2 separate regions of the Homo sapiens genome follow, and region 2 is linked to region 1. The links are contacts of gene promoters, found by promoter capture Hi-C in blood cells and fetal thymus (Javierre and others, 2016). All regions are on one chromosome and are shown on one strand. The core of a region is centred on a gene start or on the middle of the fragment in contact, and the rest is flanking DNA. Distances in the headings are between cores, read along the strand shown.

What was found. The method cuts DNA at HindIII sites, captures the fragments that hold promoters and counts their contacts. A CHiCAGO score of 5 or more calls a contact.
Region 2: a fragment that was not itself captured here is called in contact with the fragment with the promoter of ITGA2B in region 1 in 1 of 17 cell types (megakaryocytes); the score reaches 5.1 in megakaryocytes.

The regions. Positions count from the first base shown.
Region 1 is chr17:44,386,431-44,392,762 of GRCh38, reverse strand. ITGA2B (integrin subunit alpha 2b) reads left to right here and starts at 3,114. Exons shown (of 30, transcript NM_000419.5): 1 at 3,114-3,477. The coding sequence starts at 3,290. RefSeq lists an enhancer at 2,898-2,957. The HindIII fragment of the contact is 14,706 bases long and covers 2,667-6,332 here.
Region 2 is chr17:45,155,639-45,161,970 of GRCh38, reverse strand. HEXIM2-AS1 (HEXIM2 antisense RNA 1) reads left to right here and starts at 433. Exons shown (of 3, transcript NR_186789.1): 1 at 433-510; 2 at 2,479-2,641. HEXIM2 (HEXIM P-TEFb complex subunit 2) reads right to left here and starts at 96. Exons shown (of 4, transcript NM_001303441.2): 1 at 1-96. RefSeq lists enhancers at 1-196, 1-229, 347-576, 230-845, 846-1,461. The HindIII fragment of the contact is 332 bases long and covers 2,566-2,897 here.

The DNA.
Region 1 (6,332 bases), core at 1,865-4,364:
TTTTGGTTTTTGGTTTTTTGGGTTTTTTGAGATGGAATTTTGCTCTTGTTGCCCAGGCTGGAGTGTGATGGCACGATCTCGGCTGACCGCAACCTCCGTCTCCCAGGTTCAAGCAATTCTTCCTCAGCCTCCCAAGCAGCTGAGATTATAGGTGTGCACCACCACACCCGGCTAATTTTTGTATTTTTAGTAGAGACAGGGTTTTGCCATGTTGGCCAGGCTGATCTCAAACTCCTGGCCTCAAGCGATCCGCCCACCTTGGCCTCCCAAAGTGTTGGGAGATTACAGGTGTGAGCCACCATGCCCAGCAAAAAAAAAAAAAAAAAAAAAAAAAATTGTTTTTTAGGCATAGTCTTACTCTTGCCCAGGCTGGAGTGGAGTGGCAAAATCGTAGTGCACTGTAACCTAAAACTCGTGGGCTCAAGTGATTCTCCTGCCTCGGCCTCCTCAGTAGCTGGAACTACAGGTGTGCACTACCGTGCCTGGCTAATTTTAATTTTTTTGTAGAGACAGGGTCTCACTATGTTGCCCAGGCTGGTCCCAAACACCTGGCTTCAAGCAATCCTCATCTTGGCCTCCCAAAGTGCTAGGGTTACAGGCATGAGCCACCAAACCTGGTGTAAAAAATCTTTATAATTTTATTTTTCTTTTCTTTCTTTCTTTTTTTCTTTTTTGATGGAGTCTCACTCTGTCGCCCAGGCTGGAGTGCAGTGGCATGATCTTAGCTCACTGCCACCTCCGCCTCACAGGTTCAAGCAATTCTTTTGCCTCAGCCTCCCAAGTAGCTGGGATTACAGACACACACCACCACGCCCAGCTAATTTTTGTATTTTTAGTAGAGACGGGGTTTCACTAGGTTGGCCAGGCTGGTCTCAAACTCCTGACCTTGTGGTCCACTCGCCTGGGCCTCCCAAAGTGCTGGGATTACAGGCATGAGCCACCATGCCCGGCTAAAATCTTTATGATTTTCCATCCCCCATGGATTAAAGTTCAGATTCCTTAATATGGCATTCAAGGACCTCCAGTAATTTGAATCCCCAAGCTTTACCCCCTTGCGCCTCAGTCCAACCCTTTAAGCATTCTGCTATGCTGAGTCAACTACTTGTCCTTCCCTACCTCTGTGTTCCTTTGCTGCTCTCATGTATTCTCTATGCCTAAAAACCCTTTCATTCTCTGACAAAAGGCAACTTGAACATGAGTTCAAGTGCAACCCATGTTTGAATCTTAGTTTTGCCATCTGTTGGCTGCGTAAACATGGGCAATTTACCTAAAACTCTTGTGCCACAGTTTTGTGTTTATAAAATGGGCATAATAGTACTTATTTCCTAGGGTTGTTATGAGTAACAATGATATACGACTTTGATAATCTGTGTATTTTTCAAGGCATGCTTGACTGTCTCTCTGCTGCAGTTATGTGTGTTCATGTCTTAACTCTTTCTGGGCTGTTTGTTAAGTCTCCTTGATGGCTATCTTTGGAGTTTTTAAAATATTTTATTTTTTATAATTTTAAAATAGAGACGAGGTCTCACTGTATTGCCTAGGCTGGTCTTAAATGCCTGAGCTCAAGCCATCCTCCTGCCTCAGCCTCCCAAAGTGCTGGGATTACAGGCATGAGCCACTATACCTGGCCTAATGGTTATCTTTGTATCCTTTATCAACACAGTGCCTTGAACAGAGTAAATACTTATTGAAAACTTGAGTGAAATGTAAGTTCATATTTGGCCTCACAGAATACACCAGTAATACAGCAATCACTCACCTGAGGACAGTGGGAGGATAGAAGGTAAGTAGAGGACTGGGTTAAGTATTCGTTCAAGCAAATACATTAATTACACGCCTCCCATGTACTTGACACTGGGAACTCAGCAATGAAGAAGGCCCAGACCAAAGTTCAGGCTTTTAGCTTCCTGTCCTATAAAGGATAAGATTCTTAACTCTAGGCTGAGGTAGTAAATTACGAGGGGACTTCAAAATGGTACAGGGTGGTTGAGCAGGATACGGCAATGGTTAAGTTTGATCAGAAAATAGAAATCAAAAGGAAAATGTGGCTATGGTTACCCCTAGCGGACCTCTTAAATCTTCCTGAGAACCTGCTTTTTTGGGAAGGCATGAGTGCCAGTAAGACTTGGCACTCCTCCTCTTCCGCTTACCGAGAGAAAATGACTTTGCCTTTCTGCTCAAAACTCATCCCTTCACTTTGTCACCCTATGTTTGCATCTTCCATCCTTAGTGTGTGTTTCCATCCAGTCTTTCAGCAATACACGTACTACACATTGGACTCTTGGGTAGTCTCTAGGGCTGTAGCAAGGAGCCTTGCTCCCAAGGGACTCATTTACACAATCCTGTGAACGGACCAAGAGTAAACAGTGTGCTCAATGCTGTGCCTACGTGTGTTAGCCCACGCGGCCAGCCTGAGGAGTCAGGGAAGGCTCCCCTAGGCAAAGCCCCCAACCAGAATCAAGTCTTAATGGTTAAAGAGCTCCATCACCCAAAAAGGATTGAGGGCCTACCTTCAACTGAACAGCTAATGCATAATCTCAGAAACTGTGAGTCAAAATTCCCTGGAATAACTCCACTTTATCCCCAATCTCCTTGCCACCTAGACCAAGGTCCATTCACCACCCTGTCCCCAGCACTGACTGCACTGCTGTGGCCACACTAAAGCTTGGCTCAAGACGGAGGAGGAGTGAGGAAGCTGCTGCACCAATATGGCTGGTTGAGGCCGCCCAAGGTCCTAGAAGGAGGAAGTGGGTAAATGCCATATCCAAAAAGATACAGAAGCCTCAGGTTTTATCGGGGGCAGCAGCTTCCTTCTCCTTCCCCGACCTGTGGCCAAGTCACAAAGCACCACAGCTGTACAGCCAGATGGGGGAAGGGAGGAGATTAGAACTGTAGGCTAGAGTAGACAAGTATGGACCAGTTCACAATCACGCTATCCCAAGCAGAAAGTGATGGTGGCTTGGACTAGCACGGTGGTAGTAGAGATGGGGTAAAGATTCAAGAGACATCATTGATAGGCAGAACCAATAGGACATGGTAATAAACTATTCTCAGGAAAGGGGAGGAGTCATGGCTTTCAGCCATGAGCATCCACCCTCTGGGTGGCCTCACCCACTTCCTGGCAATTCTAGCCACCATGAGTCCAGGGGCTATAGCCCTTTGCTCTGCCCGTTGCTCAGCAAGTTACTTGGGGTTCCAGTTTGATAAGAAAAGACTTCCTGTGGAGGAATCTGAAGGGAAGGAGGAGGAGCTGGCCCATTCCTGCCTGGGAGGTTGTGGAAGAAGGAAGATGGCCAGAGCTTTGTGTCCACTGCAAGCCCTCTGGCTTCTGGAGTGGGTGCTGCTGCTCTTGGGACCTTGTGCTGCCCCTCCAGCCTGGGCCTTGAACCTGGACCCAGTGCAGCTCACCTTCTATGCAGGCCCCAATGGCAGCCAGTTTGGATTTTCACTGGACTTCCACAAGGACAGCCATGGGAGGTGAGCCGTAAGGGAAGTTGGGGTATTGGGAGAGAGCAGGACCCCTCCCCATCACTGCTTCTGGGGGCTTCGAGTTTCCCATTTGCGATAGCAGTTGAGCAAGGTGACTTGTGGGGCCTATTCAGGTTGATTTCTTGTCAAGAATGTTGGGGTCCAGGGGACTGGCTCAGGTGAAGGTATAAGGGCAGGGCACATGTGGGCTGATGGGCACTGAAAACTACAGCAAGAACAAAGGGAAGACAAGAGTTGATGCTTTATTTTTTCCCCAAGGGTCAGTTGTATGAACCACTCCACCCTCAACACCTTGAAATGCAGAGAGGAGGCCGGGCGCGGTGGCTCATGCCTGTAATCCCAGCACTTTGGGAGGCCGAGGCGGGCAGATCACCTGAGGTCGAGAATTCGAGACCAGCCTGACCAACATGGAGAAACCCCGTCTCTACTAAAAATACAAAAAAAAAAAAAAAAAAGAGACCAGGCACAGTGGCTCACACCTGCAATCCCAGCACTTTGGGAGGCAGAGGTGGGCAGATCATGAGGTCAGGAGTTCAAGACCAGCCTGGCCAATATGGTGAAACCCTGTCTCTATTAAAAATACAAAAATTAGCTGAGCGTGGTGGCACACTCCTGTAGTCCCAGCTACTCGGGAGGCTGAGGTAGGAGAATCACTTGAACCCGGGAGGTGGAGGTTGCAGTGAGCTGAGATCATGCCACTGCACTCCAGCCTGGGTGACAGAGTGACACTCCGTCTCAAAAAAAAAAAAATTAGCCGGGCGTGGTGCCGCATGCTTGTAATCCCAGCTACTCGGGAGGCTGAGGCAGGAGAATCGTTTGAACCTGAGAGGCAGAGGTTGTGGTGAGCCGAGATCATGCCATTGCACTCCAGCCTGGGCAACGAGAGCGAAACTCTGTCTCAAAAAAAAAAAAAAAAAAAAAAGAAAGGAAATGTGGAGAGGAGCACATGTCCTAAATTGATTTGCAGAACTAAAGTTGTCTACCCTCCCGCACCTTGCATTTCTGTTCCATTTCCCTCATCTCCATCAACATTATAAATATTTGAAAAGAAGCAATAGGTCATTAATGATTAGTATTGATCAGGCTTCAGAATCAAGAGTGCCAAGATTAGAGTCTTGGCTCCTCCTCTTCATAGCGTGTACCCTGAGCTACTATTGTGAGAGACACTGTGCCCACCAGCTTCAGGGAGTGGCAATGGGTGGCAATGGCAGATAGCCTTCAAGTGTCAGCCACTTAGGGGATTTCCTCTGCTGAAGAGAGCCAGTTCACTCCAAGTCCCCTCCCAAGATGGCCCACATCCAGTGTCTGATCAATGAGAAGTGGGTGAGTGGGGAGAGTGGAGGCAGGTGTGGGGGAGGCATTTGATAAGGGTCCAGCCCTCTTTCATCAACTCTGACAATTCTTTTTTTCTTCTTCTTCTTTTTTTTTTTTTTTTTTTTTTTTTTTTGAGATGGGGTTTCGCTCTTGTTGCCCAGGCTGGAGTGCAATGGCACAATCACTGGCTCACCGCAACTTCTGCCTCCCGGGTTCAAGCGATTCTCCTGCCACAGCCTCCCGCGTAGCTGGGATTACAGGCATGTGCCACCACACCCGGCTAATTTTGTATTTTTAGTAGAGACGAGGTTTCTCCATGTTGGTCAGGGTGGTCTCGAACTCCCAACTTCAGGTGATCCACCCGCCTTGGCCTCCCAAAGTGCTGGGATTACAGGCTTCAGCCACCATGCCCAGACTTTTTTTCTTCTTTTTTTTTGAGATGGAGTTTCGCTCTCGTTGCCCAGGCTGGAGTGCAATGGGGTGATCTCGGCTCACTGCAACCTCTGCCTCCTGGGTTCAAACGATTCTCCTGTCTCAGCCTCCCGAGTAGCTGGGATTACAGGTGCATGCCACCATGCCCGGCTAATTTTTGTATTTTTAGTAGAGACAGGGTTTCACTATGTTGGCCAGGCTGGTCTCAAACTCCTGACCTCAGGTGATCAGCCTGCCTCGGCCTCCCAAAGTACTGGGATTACAGGCGTGAGCCACCACACCCGGCCAACTCTGACAATTTTGAAGGGTCATTCTAGTTCCAAAGCTCGTGGGGTGTTGGCGAATGCTGTCATTGGGCCTGAATCAGCTCAACTCCTTCCTGTGCCCACTCCTGCTGATTTCCCCTCCTATAAGTAGTGATCCCATTGGCACTACTTAAACATCCTGCAGGCTAAAAAAATATTATGGGCCAGACACAGAGGCTCACGCCTGTAATCCCTTGGCCTCCCAAAGTGCTGGGATTACAGGTGTGAGCCACCATGCCCAGCCTATAAAAAAATTTTTTTTAATTAGCCAGGCATGGTGTTGCACACCCGCAGTCCCAGCTACTAGGGTGGCTGAGGGGAGAGGATTGCTTGAGCCCTGGAGATCAAGGCTACAGTGAGCTGTGATCATGCTGCTGCACTCCAGCTGGGCAACAGAATGAGACCCTGTCTCAAAACAACAAAATTATTTTTTAAAATTATAGCATTGTTTCAAGAGCGTTTGTTATGTATTTGGCTGGGACCATGCTAACCGTTACTCGTATTTATTACATTTACTCCTGACAGCATTGACTGGTTGTGAAAACCAGTCATTGGTTATGAAATTGGTATTCCTATTTCACATATGGCAGAATTGTGATTTAAACCTAGATCTGCTAGGGTCCTCCTATCAGCACACACACTCCAGCCCCACTTTAGAGGTACCCGCTACCTTCCCTCATTAAAACCAGCTCTCAAGAGGGGATCTGGTAACAGTCTAGGCAGGCATTCCAGGGAGCATGTGAACCGCTGGTTCTTGTTGCGGGTGGAAGGATGGAGGTGTTGTACAGAGTT
Region 2 (6,332 bases), core at 1,482-3,981, 770 kb before region 1:
GTCGGTGCAATTCCCAACGCCTGAGCCCTACCTCTTGCTGCAGTTGCAGCAGCTCTGGTCAAGCCGCTCAGGCCACTAAGATGGGGGGGAAGAGAGAGCCTGGACGCGCGGTGCCTGCTGGGGATTGTAGTTCTTCTGGCCTGAAAAGCGATCCAAGGGCCTGTAACGTCAACAGCCACACCCGAGACTCCAAAACCCATCTACCCTTGCGCGGGGGCAGACCGCGCGCGCATCACTGCCTTCTTTGATTGGTCAAGCCTTCTGCCAATATTCTCGCTTTTTTGGCAACGATTAGCTGTGAGGAGGCACAACTGGACCCGCCTTCTCCGAACTCAATTAAAGAGTTCATTGATGGCGTTAATCTTTACGGGGCAGAAAATAGATCCGGCTAAGGTGGGCGGGGCAGCAGGCGCGGAGGGATCCTTGGCCTTTGAGGAAGGCGACGAGAAGCTCGGCGGCCATCGCCGCCATTTTGGGCTGGGAGGAGGCAGCGGAGGGACTCGCTGCGCAGTGAGAGCACCCCGTGGGGGGTGGTCCGGGCGCGGGGAGAGGCCGGGCCGAGTGGGCTACCTGAAGTGGCGGCGCCGGGAGACGGCGGGAAGTGGGACCGGGGGCCAGGGAGGGTGAAGGTTGGAGTCTCCTCGGCCGAGCCCGGTCCTCAAACCGTCCCGGCAGCCCCGCAGCCTCGCCTCTCACAGAGTGCGGGGTTCTTCGGTAATTACCGCGTGTTTCCCGAGACCCCAGAAGGGGAGAGGCTGGTGAAACGGCTTCCCTCTGCGGTCTTTCCACAGGGGCGCGGATCCTGAGGCCGAGCTCTGCCAGCTTCCCTCCCCACCCCCATTCGGCCTGGGTATGGCGGCGAGGCCCCGCACAGAGGGACTCCCACTTCGACTGGAGAGGTGGGGGCGACGCCAGATTCCAGAGGCTGGCGCCGCGGGGGAGGGCGGAGGTCGCAGGTCTGGCCACAAGTCGGCGTGGCAGTCAGCTGGAGGCTCCGAGAGCGGAGATCCCAGTGCACCCACCTTACCTCGCTTACACCAAAGCGCCATCTCGCCGCCCGGGTTGCGAAAAACCACGACCCTCTTAAACTACTGTAGCAACCACTAATTCCCCCTGGGAGCAGCTAGAGAGGGGCACTTGGAAACCTTCACGAGCTCGGTGCCTGAAGGTCTCTGAGGCTCTTGCCCTCAAGATCTCTCCCATTCAGCCCCGATTCTCCGGACAACCTGACCTAGCATGTCGCCAGCCTCTTGGTGAAACGCCTAAAGTGTGCTGCCCCACTTCTCTTGAAAGTTTACACCGAAGGGATGAGGTTTTGCCCTTTACAGGGTTGGGGCACAAAGTCGGAGTCGCTGCGGCTCCGAAATAGAAACGGAGTTGCCCATTTCGTATGCTTCATCAACATCTGCTTGCATTTTGAAATCCTAGTCTTAACTTTTACACAACTTTTAGAGAAATGGCTGCCCTCCTAGAGGGAAAAACGAACTACAGTAATTCCAATTCCAATGTAATCTTTGTAAGACTACAAAATCTTTCCAGTTTAAAGATTTTTCTTTTCCCACAGACTAAACAAAGTCAGAGTATTTTGTGTTCTACTGGTGCATTGTTACTAGGTAACCTCAATTTTTTGAAATTCCAAGTAATTGAAGGATCACTTTTGTAGATCCTAAATGCTACCAAAAAAGAAACCAGTTTTTATCTACTTCATATGTATAGCGTTTAAGAGATGAGGAGACCTGCTTTGAAAGAATAAACTCTTAACCTTACATTATAGCTGTAGCAGCTTCTTAAAGATTGAAGTTTGATGTGAAGTTCTTTTATTGAATTGCAGGTTAAACCATCTTACTTCCTACTGCTTGAAATCTAAATCCAGAGAGATTTGTGGCTCAAGGATATCTTCAAATAAAAGTTTTATTGCTAAAATGTCAGTTAAAATTATGCCTAGGTAGGTGCTGAAGTAGGAGAGGCTTTGACGTAGCAGAGTGACTGGCAGTGAATTTTGTGGGTACCTTGTGATGAGTCTTATTATCAGTTACAAATGGTCAAAACATGCCTAAGCCTTCAGCCTTACTAAAAGTTTAACAGAACTTGGCCTGGCGCGGTGGCTCACACCTGTAATCCCAGCCCTTTGGGAGGTGGAGGCGGGTGGATCACCTGAGGTCAGGAGTTTGAGACCAACCTGGCCAACATGGTGAAGCCCCTTCTCTACTAAAAATACAAAATTAGCCGGGTGTGGAGTTGCGTGCCTGTAATCCCAGCTACTCGGGAGGCTGAGGCAGGAGAATCGCTTGAACCCAGGAGGCAGAGTTTGCCATGAGCCTCTCACCGTTGCACTCCAGCCTGGGTGACAGAGTAAGACTCTGTCTCAAAAAAAAAAAAAAGTTTTCCAGAACTGAAGTTCTGCTCCTCCTATTAATAATTTTTCTTCAGTTGGAGTGACAACTCCATAGCATTAACTTTTTTCCCTCTGCTCCCCAGATGTTTTACAACTGGATTACAAAATAGGATCATCATTGACTAGGGTCCTCAATCCAAAACTGGAACCACTTACTCCTAACTGAAGCTTCAGTACACTTGATGCCTACTGTGGTTTGATTTTTTACCTACATATGACATGTTCGCTCTACACTGATCAAGAGATGTGAGTTTAAAAAAGCTAACTAACTTGGTAGGACTTAAATAGTCATAGGAACAGAAAAGGCTTTTAAAGACGATCTTTGTGGGTCTTCTGTCAAGAATTTAATGGAGGATCCTAGACACTTGGGATTCATCCTCCATTATGAAGTAATCTAGTGAAATTTTTGGATGCTACTGAGTGGCAAATACTGTACCAGCAGCAGAAATTTGTTACTCATTTGTAAATGAAACTTACTATCCTTAAGGTTGACCCACAAGCTTTTCCATTCTTTGCTAAGAAAAATTGGGAATAGGCCGGGCACAGTGGCTCACGCCTGTAATCCCAGCACTTTGGGAGGCCAAGGCGGGCAGATCACGAGGTCAAGAGATTGAGACCGTCCTGGCAGACATGGTGAAACCCCATCTCTACTAAAAATACAAAAATTAGCTGAGTGTGGTGGTGTGCACCTGTAGTCACAGCTACTTGGGAAGCTGAGGCAGGAGAATTGCTTGAACCCCGGGGCTGGAGGTTGCAGTGAGCCGAGATCGTGCCACTGCACTCCAGCCTGGGTGACAGAGCAAGATTCTGTCTCAAAAAAAAAAAAAGAAAAAATGGGAATAAAACCAGCTTATTAGTGGCCTCCTGGTTATCTAAGGAAAACACAGGACTGTAGGACTGAAAATTAGGAACTCCGAGCTCTGTTTCTGTGTGTGCTGCCCTTAACTTGGTTGACTTGGCCAGAGGCCAAATACTGATAATGAGGCCAAACTGGTCATTTTGCTGCTTAGTCTATTGTTCATCTACTGTTCAACCAGACTTTCAACTTCCTTTTCAGCTCTCCCCTCTCAGATGAGTTGCATTATGCTTTTATGACAAATTCTACAAACTCTATATTCATTTGAAAATGGTATCAGCACTGTCTCCCTCATAAATACCTAGAGGAGTAACTAGTCTTAAGTCGCTATGTAAACACTTACTCCTTGTAACTTTGTTATATGAGAACTTCACAAGGAATGCTTCAAAGATCATTGGGGCAGTTGGAAAGCCTGCCTTACCAAAGTGTGGCCTTAGTTGTCCATAGCATCACAAAAGAGCCATCCAAGTAGGCTGAATGAGGATCAGTCTCTCAGGGTGCCCACTGGTTGTGGCTGTGAAGTCCTGGACACTCATTTTGCCTGATGGCCAAATCCTAGGGAGCAGTGACTATGTGTGAGTAGGATTCGTTGACAGAGGTAGGAGGTTTTTTTTTTGTTTTTTTTTCCTGCTGCCTGTATAATTGCAGAAAAGGAGTGATTCTTTACAGTAATTCCCCCTCTTCGGGATGAAGATGCTTGCTTCTGTTTGGTTTCCACAGTTAAATCAATTTTTTTTCCTTTTCTTTTGAGATGGAATCTTGCTCTGTCGCCCAGGCTGGAGTGCAGTGGCGCGATTTCGCCCACTGCAACCTCCACCTCCCAGGTTTAAGCGATTCTCCTGCCTCAGCCTCCCGCGTAGCTAGGATTACAGGCACTCACCACCATGCCTGGCTAATTTTTGCATTTTATTTTTTTCTGGAACGGAGTTTCACCTGGTTGCCAAGGCTGGAGCGCGATGGTGTGATCTTGGCTCACCACAACCTCTGCCTCCTGGGTTCAAGCGATTCTCCTGCCTCAGCCTCCCAAGGAGCTGGGACTATAGGCATGCGCCACCATGCACGGCTAGTTTTGTATTTTTAGTAGAGATGGGGTTTCTCCATGTTGGTCAGGCTGGTCTTGAACTCCCAACCTCAGGTGATCCTCCCACCTTGGCCTCCCAAAGTGCTGGGATTACAGTCAGTGAGCCACTGTGCCCGGCCTGTATTTGTATTTTTAGTAGAGACAGGGTTTTACCATGTTGGCCAGGCTGGTCTCCAACTCCTGACCTCAGGTGGTCCGCCCACCTCGGCCTCCCAGTGTGCTAGGATTGCAGGCGTGAGCTACGGTGCCTGGCCAGTTAATCAGTTTTTTACCCTCCTGTGTTTAGGCCCCAACATCCTGTTCTTGATCTTTTTTGGCAAAAATTTGGCCAAAGATTGAAATTTTGCCTCCTGGACCATATATTTTGCTCCAGTTGCAAAGTATGACTTTTATCCTTTGGTCAGCAGTTCCCATGGTGTTTAGGGCCTGAATTTGACATTCTTTTTTTTTTTTCTTTTTGAGATGGAGTCTAGCTCTGTTGCCCAGGCTGGAGTGCAGTGGCACGATCTCGGCTTGCCGCAACCTCTGCCTCCCGGCTTCAAGCAGTTCTCCCTGCCTCAGCCTCCCAAATATCTGGGATTACAGGCGCCCACCACCACACCCGGCTAATTTTTGTAGCTTTTTTTGTTTGTTTGTTTGTTTTTGAGAGTCTCACTCTGTCACCAGACTGGAGTGCAGTGGCGCAGTCTCGGCTCACTGCAACCTCTGCCTCCTGGGTTCAAGCAATTCTCCTGCCTCAGCTTCCCAAGTAGCTGGGACTACGGGTGGGCACCACCATGCCTAGCTAATTTTTTTTCTGTATTTTTAGTAGAGACGGAGTTTTACCATATTGGCCAGGATGGTCTCGATCTCTTGACCTTGTGATGCGCCCGCCTCGGCCTCCCAAAGTGCTGGGATTACAGGCGTGAGCCACCGTACCTGGCAACATTCTCTTTTTTTAAAAAAATAACTTTTTATTTCTAGCCTCAACCATTTACACTTTGCTTGAGAAAGAATAATAAAGTGGAATTGTTATTCCAGTGATGTTGTGCAAATGTGAGAAATAGTACTTCCCCCAAAAAAACAAACCTCGAAACCCCACAAACTCAAGTGTACTTAAGTACTTAACGTTCAAGTACTTTTTAACTATAACCAACTTTTCCACCACACTGTTGTGAATATTTGTTGCTAGCTGTTATGGGTATAAGTGATCAAGGGAAGAACTGATGCATTACCTAATGCTTGACTAAATATAGCCAGCCCTTAAGTAGGTAGAGTATTTGGTTGTGGGTTTTGTTGTTTAAGTCTGTGGAGTCCCTCTTTGGTTTCTTTAACTTTTGCAGTCATTAGGGCAGAGTATATTTATTTACATTTCTCCAAGCAAAGTCTTGCTCTGTTGCCCAGGCTGGAGTACGGTGGCGCGATCTCGGCTCACTACAACCTCTGCCTCCCAGGTTCAAGCAATTGTCCTGCCTCAGCCTCCCGAGTAGCTGGGATTACAGATACCCGCCACGATGCCTGGCTAATTTTTGTATTTTTAATAGAGACGAGATTTTGCCATGTTGGCCAGGCTGGTTTCGAACTTTTGACCTCAAGTGATCCATCTGCCTTGGCCTCCCAACGTGCTGGGATTACAGGCGTGAGCCACCATGCCTGGCCTAAATTTACTTTTTAATAGAGACGAGGCTGGTTATGTTGCCTGTGTTGGTAACTGTGTTGCCTAGGCTGGTGTCAAGTGCTTGAGCTCAAGTGACCCTCCTGCCTTGGCTTCCCAAAGTGTTAGGATTACAGGCATGAAGCCACTGCGCCTGGCCTGTCTAATCTTTATTATGCTTCCCCTCTTTAGAGATACTTAGTCTGTTTTTCAGAACTAAACCAATCTGGAACTCCCTGGCTCTCTCTCCTAAAACTCTGAAGTCTAGAGGACCCTGTCTCCTGAGGGCTCTAAGAAAAGCTGTCCAGCTAGCTGTGTCAGTTTGAGAAGCAGTTTTTCCTGATTGAATACCTAGGCCCCAGTAGGA